Linked DNA regions of Homo sapiens: regions 1, 2 and 4 are each linked to region 3. The links are contacts of gene promoters, found by promoter capture Hi-C in human tissues and cell types (Jung and others, 2019). All regions are on one chromosome and are shown on one strand. The core of a region is centred on a gene start or on the middle of the fragment in contact, and the rest is flanking DNA. Distances in the headings are between cores, read along the strand shown.

Region 1 (2,700 bases), core at 34-2,533, 260 kb after region 3:
TAGCTGAAAACAAGATGACAAACTAGTGAAATATCGCCTGGGGGCCAAACAGTTCATACCGTTGCTGTGAATTAAGGACAGAAGGTTAGCCTGGGGAAGTCTCTGGAAACCAAGAGATTTGCTGCCAGCCCTAGGAGGAGTCAGGATGAGAGAACACAGTGGTGGATTTGAGACCCTGCTAACCACATCTTTGGAAGACTCAGAGGGGAAACGGTCGCCCTTGGAAAGAAAGAAGGGACTGAGGACCACGGAGACCACAGCTCCTCCCACACACAAACCCCACACACGAGTCTGGATTCCACCTGGTGACTCGTCGTCACCGTGCAGCCTCCTCACCGGGTTCACAGGAACTGCGAGCCAGGCTGGAGGCGAGATTGCAGTTAGATATTAACCAGGTGCCCTCAGCCCCGCTGCCTCAAGGGGCCGCCTCCCTGAGAGTCAGGTCACAGCAGACGCTGACCGCCGGCTTCCCCATTGTGCCTGGGGATAAGATCTCTGAGAACTGCTCAAGAGTCGCCGGAGTTCTCAGATCCTGAATCCCAGCAAAGGCTGGCGCCAATCAGGTTGAAGTCCCAACGAGGGAGCCCATTCAGCAGAATGCGGTTTCTTCACCTCCTGTCCCAGGATTCACCCCTCACTTCCCCACCAACCAACGACCCTACACCCAGCCGCCCCCGTCCAGACCCCAAATCCCTCAGGGAGGCGGATCTGGGGTGTCCTCCCCTCTCTGGCTATTAAACTGTTTCTGCTGCAGCCCTCAGCGTCTCGGTGCAGTGAGTCGGGCCGCGAACCTGTGTTGCTTACAGCCGCACAATCTCGGGAGACGCGAGGCTGCGGGCGCGGAGCTGCCCAGAGAGGGCGCCGGGGCCGCAGTCGCCGCGCAGGAACGGGACAGGACGCCCGGGGTCCCGGCTGCATGCCCAGCCCCACCCTGCGGCCGAGGGCCGACCTACGCCAGGGGAACCCGGGTCCGTAGATCCCGGAGTAGCCCTTGGGGAGGCCCGGGTCCAGCCACAGCCGATTACTGCAGGTTCCACCCAGCCCCTCCCCCGCCTCGGGACGCCGGCCCAGCACACGCACCATTTCCCGACTTCCGCGGTGTCCCAGGTCCTCCGGACGGCTCCCGCTGCCAATGCGGGTTCCCGCGGGACACAGGCTGCCACGGAACTTCCAGGTCGTCTCTTAGCTACAGAGCCGAGCACCGAGCGCCCAGCGCAGGTGGGTGGAGAAGACGCCGCGGGCTTTTTCAACCACACACTCCTCTGGGAAGCGCGCCTGATTGACAGTTCCCACGAACCCGCCCCACGGCCCTTACTGGATACGGCGTCAGGTGCCGCCCCTCGTGGACTGATTGACAGAAGAAGCGATCTTGCACAGCTGAGTGGAGCCAGATGAGCAAGTTCCTGACACAGCCCTTGGCAGGGCGGGCTTCCTCCCTGCTCTTTGATCTGAATCCTCCCGAGGGATATTTGCACTTAAGCGGAATTTCCTGCCTGTACTCAATAGGACCTCCTGCTTCTTCCTCCTGTACACTGACTGACAAAACAATTATACTTTTTTTTTTTTTTTTTTTTTTTTTTCCGAGAGAGAGAGAGAGAGAGAGAGAGAGAGAGGGAGTCTTGCTCCGTGGCTCAGGCTAGAGTGCAATGGTGCGAGGCTCACTGCGACCTCCGCCTCCTAGGTGGGTTCAAACAATTCTGCCTCAGCCTCCCGAGTAGCTGGGATTACAGGTGCGCGCCACCACACCCGGCTAATTTTTGTATGTTTTAGTAGAGGCCGGGTTTCACCATGTTGGCCAGGCTGGTCTCGAACTCCTGACCTCGTGATCCGCCCACCTTGGCCTCCCAAAGTTCTGGGATTAGAGACGTGAGCCATCGCGCCTGGCTCCAATTATACTCTTTTTCAATGAAATTTTTCAAAATATTTCAATGTACAATTAAATTATTTTTTACTATAGTCACTCTGTTGTGCTAGCAAATACTAGGTCTTATTCATTCTTTGTAACTATTTTTTATACCTATTAACCATCCCCACTTCCCCCATAACTACTCCTCGCTACTACTTTTCCCAGCCTGTGGTAACCATCCTTCTACACGTTTTTGGTTGTTTGAGATGGGGTCTTGCTCTGTTGCCTAGGCTGGAGTGCAGTGGGGCCATCATGGCTCACTGCAACCTCTACCTCCCAAGCTCAAGCAATCCTCCCACCTCAGCCTCTCAAGTAGCTTCAGATTGTTCACTGTTGGCATATAAAAATGTTACTGATTTTTGTATGTTAATATTGTATCCTGCAACTTTACTGAATTTATTTCTCAGTTCTAATACTTTTTTGGTGGAGTCTTTAGGTATTTCCAGATATAAGATCATATTATATGCAAACCAGGATAATTTGACTTCTTCCTTTCCTTCCCAATATAGATGCCCTTTATTTCTTTTTTTTTTTTTTTTTGGACTTATTGCTCTAGCTGGGACTTCGAGTACTGTGCTGAACAACAGTGGTAAAAGTGGGCATTCTTATTGTGTTCCAGATCTTACAGGAAAGGCTTTCAGTTTTTCCTCATTCATTATCATGCTAGCTGTGGGTCTGCCATATATGGCTTTTATTATGTTAAGGTAGCTGCTTCTATACCCAGTTTTTTTTTAGGGTTTTTATCATGAAGGGATGTTAAATATTATCAAAAGCTTTTTCAGTGCACATTGAAA
Region 2 (2,838 bases), core at 109-2,608, 490 kb after region 3:
TGGAGAAAAACCCTATGAGTGTAAGGAATGTGCAAAAACCTTCATTTCTCTTGAGAACTTTCGAAGACACATGATCACCCACACTGGAGACGGACCTTATAAATGTAGGGACTGTGGGAAGGTGTTCATTTTTCCTAGTGCGTTACGAACACATGAAAGAACTCACACTGGAGAGAAACCCTATGAATGTAAACAATGTGGAAAAGCCTTTAGTTGTTCTAGTTACATTCGGATACATAAAAGAACTCACACTGGGGAGAAACCTTATGAATGTAAGGAATGCGGGAAGGCCTTTATTTATCCCACAAGCTTTCAAGGACACATGAGAATGCATACTGGAGAGAAACCCTATAAATGTAAAGAATGTGGGAAGGCCTTTAGTCTTCACAGTTCCTTTCAAAGACATACAAGAATTCACAATTATGAGAAACCTCTTGAATGTAAGCAATGTGGAAAAGCCTTCAGTGTGTCCACATCCTTAAAAAAACATATGAGAATGCACAATCGATAGAAACTCTATAAATGTGAGAAATAGGAGAAAGTTTTCAATTCTAACAGATGCTTTCAAAGTTGTGAAAATTCCCACTGAAGAGAGAAATCCTGTCAATGTAAGTAATATAGAAAGCGAGATACAAGATGATTCATGTATAGTCAGGTACCACATAATCATGTTTCAGTCAGCAATGGACCATATAGGTTGGTAGCCCCATAAGATTATATAACACCTAAAACATTTCTATCAACCGCAATTTAGTAGCAGTAGTAACACCATAGTGCAGCACATTATTTAAGTGTTTATGGTGCTGGTGTAAACGTGCTGCACTTTCAGTTGTATAAAAGTACAAGACAGCGGCCGGGGACGGTGGCTCACGCCTGTAATCCCAGCACTTTGGGAGGCCAAGGCGGGCGGATCACGAGGCCAGGAGATCAAGACCATCCTGGCTAACACGGTAAAACCCCATCTCTACTAAAAATACAAACAATTAGCCGGGCGTGGTGGTGGGCGCCTGTAGTCCCAGCTACTTGGGAGGCTGAGGCAGGAGAATGGCATAAACCCAGGAGGCCGAGCTGACAGTGAGCTGAGATCCGGCCAACAGAGCGAGACTCTGTCTCAAAAAAAAAAAAAAAAAAAAAGTACAACACAGCTGGGCATGGTCACACCTGTGATCCCAACACTGGGAGACTAAGGCAGTAGGATTGCTTGATGCCAGGACTACTCTGGTCAACCTAGTGAGACCCTGTCTCTACAAAAAATAAAAACATTTTCTAAGTGTGGTAGCACACCCTGTAGTCCCATCTACATGGGAGGCTGAGGCAGGAGGATTGCCTGAGCCCAGGAGTTCAAGGCTACAGTGAACCAAGATCACGTGATGGCAGTCCAGCATGGGTGACAGTGAGACTGTATCAAAAAAAAAAAAAAAAAATTGGCTGGGCACAGTGGCTCATACCTGTAATCCCAGCACTTTGGGAGGCTGAGGTGGGAGAATCAGTTGAGGTCAGGAGTTCAAGACCAGCCTGGTCAACATGATGAAACCCTGTCTCCATTAGAAATACGAAAATTAGCTGGGCGTTCTGGTGTGCCTGTAGTCCCAGCTACTTGGGAGGCCAAAGCAGGAGAATCGCTTGAACCCGGGAGGTGGAGATTGCAGTGAGCTGAGATCTACCACTACACTCCAGCCTGGGTGACAGAGCGAGACTCCGTCTCGAAAAAAAAAAAATTACAGCACAGATGTGCAATATATACTTGATAATAAATGGCTAAGTTACTGGTTTATATATTTACAATCCTGTTTTAGAATGTATTCCTGTGTTTTTTTAACAGTAAGACAGTCTCAGGCAGGTCCTTAAGGAGATATTCCCGGAAAAACTTTGTTATGATAGGCGATGACGGCTCCATGTGCAGGACTGCCCCTGAACGTATTCTGGCGGGACAAAACATGGAGGCAGAAGACAATGATATTGATGATCCTCACCCCGTGTAGTCCTACACTAATGTGTGTTTGTGTCTTAGTTAGTCTTTAACAAAAATAGTTTAAAAAAATTTAATAGAAAAAGCTTATAGAATATGGACATAAAATATTTTTGTACAGCTGTACAATGTGTTTTAAGCTAAATTATTACAAAGTTTTTAAAAATAAGTTTATAAAGAAAATAATGTACAGTAAGTTAAGGTTTATTCATTATTGAGGAAAAAATGTTTTTATGAATGTAGTGTAGTCCAAGTGTACAGTGTTTATAAATTCTCCATTAGTGTACAGTAACATCCTGGGCCTTCGCATTCACTCACCACTCAACTGACTCACCCAGAGCAACTTCTAGTCCTGCAAGCTATGTTCATGGAGTGTCCTATGCAGGTGCATCCTTTTTTATCTTTTATACTGCATGTTTACTCTGTGTATTTTCTGTGTTTAGACTCATAAATACTTAACATTTTGTTACAATTTCCTACAGTGTTCAGTACAACAACATGTTGTATGGTTTATAGCCTAGTAGCAATAGACTGTACCATATAGTCTAGATGTGTTGTAGCTATACCATCTAGATTTGTGTAAGTTCACTTTGTGATGTTTGTACCATGAGGAAATCACCTACAACACGTTTCTCAGAACATATACCCATGATTAAGCAATCTCTGCCTGTAAAATGCTCCAGAAAATTCACACCATGATATAAATTCATCACACACGATATAAAAGTTAAGGCAAGGCATGGTGGCTCATGCCTGTAATCCCAGCACTTTGGGAGGCCAAGGCAGGCAGATCACCTGAGGTCAGGAGTTCGAGACCAGCCTGGCCAAGACGGTGAAACCCCATCTCTACTAAAAATACAAAAATTACC
Region 3 (2,919 bases), core at 35-2,534:
CTACCTAAGGACACCAAAATCAAACTCAAATTGAGGCAGGAAAATAGGGTCTGGACGCAGGGAACATAAGGCCTATTCAAACTTCAGCTATGAAAGGAAATACCTACTCCATAGGGCGTAAGCCAAGTAAATGATTTTATAACCTTACTTCATCCTCTCCTTTTACATAGAGTATACCCCAAGTAACCAATGGAATCCTCCAGGGGGTATTTAAACTCCCAAAAATTCTGTAACGGGGCCTTTGAGCCCCTGTGCTCAGCCCCGCTTGCACACTGTGGAGTGTTAAATCCCTTCATTCCTTCCTTGCTTTGTGCGTTTTGTCCAATTCTTTGTTCAAGACGCCAAGAACCTGGACCCCCTCCACCGTTAACAAAATGCAATTCTTCTTAAAACTTTCTGGTACCAAAACCACAAATCATGACTGGGCGTTTCTCACTCATGAATCGCTGTTTGCTCAAACTCTTTAAATTTTTTTTTTTTTTTGAGATGGAATCTCGCTCTGTCCCCTAGGTTGGAGTGCAGTGGCGTGATCTCGGCTCACTGCAACCTTCGTCTCCTGGGGTCATGCGATTCTCCTGCTTCAGCCTCCTGAGTAGCGGGGACTACAGGCGCATGCCACCATGCCCGGCTAATTTTTTGTATTTTTAGTAGAGACGGGGTTTCACTGTGTTAGCCTGGATGGTCTCGATCTCCTGACTTCGTGATCCGCAAGCCTCGGCCTCCCAAAGTGCTGGGATTACAAGCATGGTCCACCGCGCCCGGCCCAAACTCTTTAACAGAAAAAAAAATCCGCAGGATTCCCCCATGACCCTCCCGTGGTCCCCGCAAAATCTGAAGAGACGCGGGGCTGCAGGCGCGGAGCTGCCCAGAGAGGGCTCCAGGGTCGGGGCCCACAGTCGCCCGCGCAGGAACAGAACAGGAGGACGCCCGGGGTCCCGGCTGCCGGCCCAGCCGCACCCTGCGGCCGAGGGGACGCAGGGACGAGCTGAGACAGAGGGATTCGGGTCCCAGATCCAGGAGGCGCGGCGAGGAGGCCCAGATCCCACCACAGCCGCTTCCGGCCGGTTCCACCCAGCCCCTCCCCCGTCTGGGGACTCCGGCCCCATACACTCACCATTTCCCGGCTTCTGGGTGTCCCGGTGTCCTCTCTAGGGCTCCCGTGAATAGTGCGGGTCACGGTGCAGGCGGCAGAGCGACAGAAGTTGTGGCAGAGGGACCCGGGGCCTCTCGGAGTAGGAAATCTGGTATCCCGACAACAACCTGCATAGCAACAAAAGTAGAAGCTGGAATGGGCCTCCTCCTTCCGGACGGACCGTTGGCCGGGCTCCGCCCCGGCGCTTCTGATTGGACAAGGTACAAGGCCCCGCCCCCTCAGAACTGAGTGACGGCAGAAGCCCTGGGTAACGAGCCCTGCAAAGCCGGACTGATCGGTTCTAGCCACAGCTTCTCTCTAAGGGACAACTCCTTCCCTGAGCCCTGGTCATTGGATATTTTCTTTTCAGCCAAATTTGCTCCTGATTTTTACACAGGGCACTATCTTCTTCCTCATTCAATGGGCTGTCAGTGCTTCTTCGTCCTGCACAGGGTTGTAAGTGTGTGCAGGGAATTCCAGACTGAGTGTCCAATGGAGCGATGTGCTGACCTCAGAGCAGGAAGGGGAGCCCAGATCAGGCCAGGCACGACTGCACCAAGAAGGAGAGGCAGTTGTCCTTCAGGGGCCCGGAATTAGGGATGAGACATGGCCAAGGCTTTCACACATCTCACCCCACCTCACAGTGTGGAAACTCTCCCTCCTTCCAGACCTTCATCTTCATCGGCAGAAAACTCTCACTTGGTGATTTTAAGCTTCTGACCTAAATAAACTGTCAACTGCATAAGCCCCTTCTCCAGGAGAGGTCCCAAACAGTTATTTCCCTGAACTTGATCTTTACGGATTTTCTTCAGATATGCAAATTACAGTCTGACCCCAGGGACTCTATGCATGTCAAACCCAAAACACTGCTCCCGAAAACCGCCCCAGATTCCAGATGTACAGCCGCAGAAAGGACAGAACTCCTGAAGTGCACCTGCACGTGGGTCTCCTGCTTTCCAGGGCGCTGCAGCATGTCAGAACCCACACTCTTTCTGGATCTGCTCTGAGCAGCTGCAAGCCACCTGCAGGGGAGGGCGGCTGCCCAGGAAGCACCCAGAACTCCACTTCACTCCTTGGCAGGATCCATACTAGCCTCAGCGTCCCGTCCCTGGCGTCGGTCTCTGCTGCCCCCTGCAGGTTATTCACCTGCTTCTCACATCATTCATCAGTTTCCATGAGACAAACATCCTCAATCCCACTGCGAGAATAACACACGAGCAAAGCTCTCCTCCAGTGTGTATGTATAAAGTCGAGGAGGAAGTGTCCAAGATTATTTAACTGCATGAAAGTGAGGCAGTAGTGGCTGGGCGCTGTGGCTCAAGCCTGTAATCCCAGCACTTTGGGAGGGCGAGGTGGCTGGATCACCTGAGATCAGGAGTTGGAGACCAGCGTGACCAACATGGTGAAATCCCGTCTCTACTAAAAATACAAAAATTAGCCGGGTGTGGTAGAGCCCACCTGTAATCCCAGCTACTCGGGAGACTGAGGCAGAAGAATCGTTTGTATCAAAGAGGCTGAGGTTGCAGAGAGCCGAGATTGCACCACTGCACTACAGCCTGGGCAATAGAGCGAGACTCTGTCTCAAAACAAAACAAAAAAACACACAAATGTTTAGTCATGTTACTTATTTCTGGTTTCCAGCCTGACTTTATAACATTCCTGACTCTGGGACTCTCCAGCTCTCCAGAATTATGCTTTGAAGAAAAAACAAGATAGAGCACAGGGCCCACATGTCTCTTATAAACTGTGAACCAAAATATTACATAGCAGCCATCTGTCAGAACTGC
Region 4 (2,700 bases), core at 93-2,592, 300 kb after region 3:
GACAAAGTCTTGCCATGTTGCCCAGGCTGGTCTGGAACTACTGGGATCAAGCAATACCTCTGCCTTAGCCTCCCAAGGTGCTGGAATTACAGGAATGACCCACCGTGTTCAGGAACCCAAAACAATTCTTTCAAGAAAAAGCCATACATTGCTAGCTGAAAACAAGATGACAAACTAGTGAAATATCGCCTGGGGCCAAACAGTTCATACTGTTGCTGTGAATTAAGGACAGAAGGTTAGCCTGGGGAAGTCTCTGGAAACCAAGAGATTTGCTGCCAGCCCTAGGAAGAGTCAGGATGAGAGAACACAGTGGTGGATTTGAGACCCTGCTGCCCACGTCTTTGGAAGACTCAGAGGGGAAACGGTCGCCCTTGGAAAGGAAGAAAGGACTGAGGACCACGGAAACCACAGCTCCTCCCACACACAAACCCCACACACGAGTCTGGATTCCACCTGGTGACTCGTCGTCACCGTGCAGCCTCCTCACCGGGTTCACAGGAACTGCGAGCCAGGCTGGAGGCGAGATTGCAGTTAGATATTAAACAGGTGCCCTCAGCCCCGCTGCCTCAAGGGGCCGCCTCCCTGAGAGTCAGGTCACAGCAGACGCTGACCGCCGGCTTCCCCATTGTGCCTGGGGATAAGATCTCCGAGTGCTGCTCAAGAGTCGCCGGAGTTCTCAGATCCTGAATCCCAGCAGAAAGGCTGGCGCCAACCAGGTTGAAGACCCCACGAGGGAGCCCTCTCAGCAGAATGCGGTTTCTTCACCTCCTGTCCCAGGATTCACCCCTCACTTCCCCACCAACCAAGGACGCTACACCCAGCCGCCCCCGTCCAGACCCCAAATCCCTCAGGGAGGCGGATCTGGGGTGTCCTCCCCTCTCCTCCTGTTAAACCGTTTCTGCTGCAGCCCTCGGCGTCTCGGTGCAGTGAGTCGGGCCGCGAACCTGTGTTGGTTACAGCCGCACAATCTGGGGAGACCCGGGGCTGCGGGCTCGGAGCTGCCCAGAGAGGGCGCCGGGGCCGCAGTCGCCGCGCAGGAACGGGACAGGACGCCCGGGGTCCCGGCTGCATGCCCAGCCCCACCCTGCGGCCGAGGGCCGACCTACGCCAGGGGGACCCGGGTCCGTAGATCCCGAAGTCGCCCTTGGGGAGGCCCGGGTCCAGCCACAGCCGATTACGGCCGGTTCCACCTAACCCCTCCCCCGCCTCGGGACGCCGGCCCAGCACACGCACCATTTCCCGACTTCCGCGGTGTCCCAGGTCCTACCGACAGCTCCCGCTGCCAATGCGTGTTCCAGCCAGACAAAGGCTGCCTCAGAACTTCCAGGTCGTCTCTCAGCTACAGAACCCAGAGCCGAGCGCAGGTGGGTGGAGCAGACGCCGCGGGCTTTTTCAACCACACACACTTCTCTGGGCAGTGCCTGATTGACAGTTCCCACGAACCCGCCCCACGCCCCTGATTGGATAGGGCGTCAGGTCCCGCCCCCTGAGGGCTGATTGACAGAAGAAGCGATCTTGCACAGCTGAGTGGAGCCGGATGAGCAAGTTCCTGACACAGCCCTTGGCAGGGGGGGCTTCCTCCCTGCTCTTTGATCTGAATCCTCCCGGGTTATATTTGCACTTAAGCGGAATTTCCTGCCCGTACTCAATAGGACCTCCTGCTTCTTCCTCCTGGACACGGACTGACAAACTAATTATATCTTTTTTTTTTTTTTTCCTCGAGAGGGAGTCTTGCTCTGTCGCCCAGGCTAGAGTGCAATGGTGCGAGGCTCACTGCAACCTTCGCCTCCTGGGTGGGTTCAAGCAATTCTCCTGCCTCAGCCTCCCGAGTAGCTAGGATTACAGGCACGCGCCACCACCCGGCTAATTTTTGTATTTTTCAGTAGAGGCTGGGTTTCACCATGTTGGCCAGGCTGGTCTCAAACTCGTGACCTCGTGATCCGCCTACCTTGGCCTCCCAAAGTTCTGGGATTAGAGGCGTGAGCAACTGCGCCTGGCTCCAATTATGCTCTTTTTCAATGAAATTTTTCAAGATTTTTCAATGTACAATTAAATTATTTTTTACTATAGTCACTCTGTTGTGCTAGCAAATACTAGGTCTTATTCATTCTTTGTAACTATTTTTTATACCTATTAACCATCCCCACTTCCCCCATAACTACTCCTCGCTACTACTTTTCGCAGCCTCTGGTAACCATCCTTCTACACATTTTTGGTTGTTTGAGATGGGGTCTTGCTCTGTTACCTAGGCTGGAGTGCAGTGGGGCCATCATGGCTCACTGCAACCTCTACCTCCTAAGCTCAAGCAATCCTCCCACCTCAGCCTCTCAAGTAGCTTCAGATTGTTCACTGTTGGCATATAAAAATGTTATTGATTTTTGTGTGTTGATATTGTATACTGCAACTTTACTGAATTTATTTCTCAGTTCTAATACTTTTTTGGTGGAGTCTTTAGGTATTTCCAGATATAAGATCATATTATATGCAAACAAGGATAATTTGACTTCTTCCTTCCCAATATGGATGCCCTTTATTTCTTTTTTTTTCTTTTTTTTTTTTTTGTCTTATTGCTCTAGCTGGGACTTCAAGTACTGTGTTGAACAACAGTGGTAAAAGTGGGCATTCTTATTGTGTTCCAGATCTTACAGGAAGGGCTTTCAGTTTTTCCCCATTCATTATCATGCTAGCTGTGGGTCTGCC

What was found. The method cuts DNA at HindIII sites, captures the fragments that hold promoters and counts their contacts. A contact is called where the count stands out against the background at its distance.
Region 1: the fragment with the promoter of ZNF799 here is called in contact with the fragment with the promoter of ZNF20 in region 3 in 1 of the 25 tissues and cell types used here (mesenchymal stem cells).
Region 2: a fragment that was not itself captured here is called in contact with the fragment with the promoter of ZNF20 in region 3 in 1 of the 25 tissues and cell types used here (bladder).
Region 4: a contact is called between the fragment with the promoter of ZNF443 here and the fragment with the promoter of ZNF20 in region 3, in 1 of the 25 tissues and cell types used here (adrenal gland).

What each region holds. Positions count from the first base shown.
Region 1 is chr19:12,399,988-12,402,687 of GRCh38, forward strand. ZNF799 (zinc finger protein 799) reads right to left here and starts at 1,284. Exons shown (of 4, transcript NM_001080821.3): 1 at 1,081-1,284. The coding sequence starts at 1,083. RefSeq lists enhancers at 579-668, 1,389-1,438 and a silencer at 899-1,058. The HindIII fragment of the contact is 18,323 bases long and covers 1-2,700 here.
Region 2 is chr19:12,628,750-12,631,587 of GRCh38, forward strand. ZNF791 (zinc finger protein 791) reads left to right here. Exons shown (of 4, transcript NM_153358.3): 4 at 1-2,838. The coding sequence ends at 511. Among named protein-coding and RNA genes, the nearest start is that of ZNF791, 19 kb to the left of the region's middle. The HindIII fragment of the contact is 6,065 bases long and covers 1-2,838 here.
Region 3 is chr19:12,139,066-12,141,984 of GRCh38, forward strand. It overlaps ZNF20 (zinc finger protein 20), which reads right to left and starts at 1,285. Exons shown (of 4, transcript NM_021143.4): 1 at 1,115-1,285. The coding sequence starts at 1,117. ZNF625-ZNF20 (ZNF625-ZNF20 readthrough (NMD candidate)) reads right to left here. Exons shown (of 8, transcript NR_037802.1): 5 at 1,115-1,260. RefSeq lists a silencer at 862-1,071. The HindIII fragment of the contact is 9,607 bases long and covers 1-2,919 here.
Region 4 is chr19:12,439,679-12,442,378 of GRCh38, forward strand. ZNF443 (zinc finger protein 443) reads right to left here and starts at 1,343. Exons shown (of 4, transcript NM_005815.5): 1 at 1,234-1,343. The coding sequence starts at 1,236. RefSeq lists a silencer at 1,022-1,111 and an enhancer at 1,522-1,791. The HindIII fragment of the contact is 16,773 bases long and covers 1-2,700 here.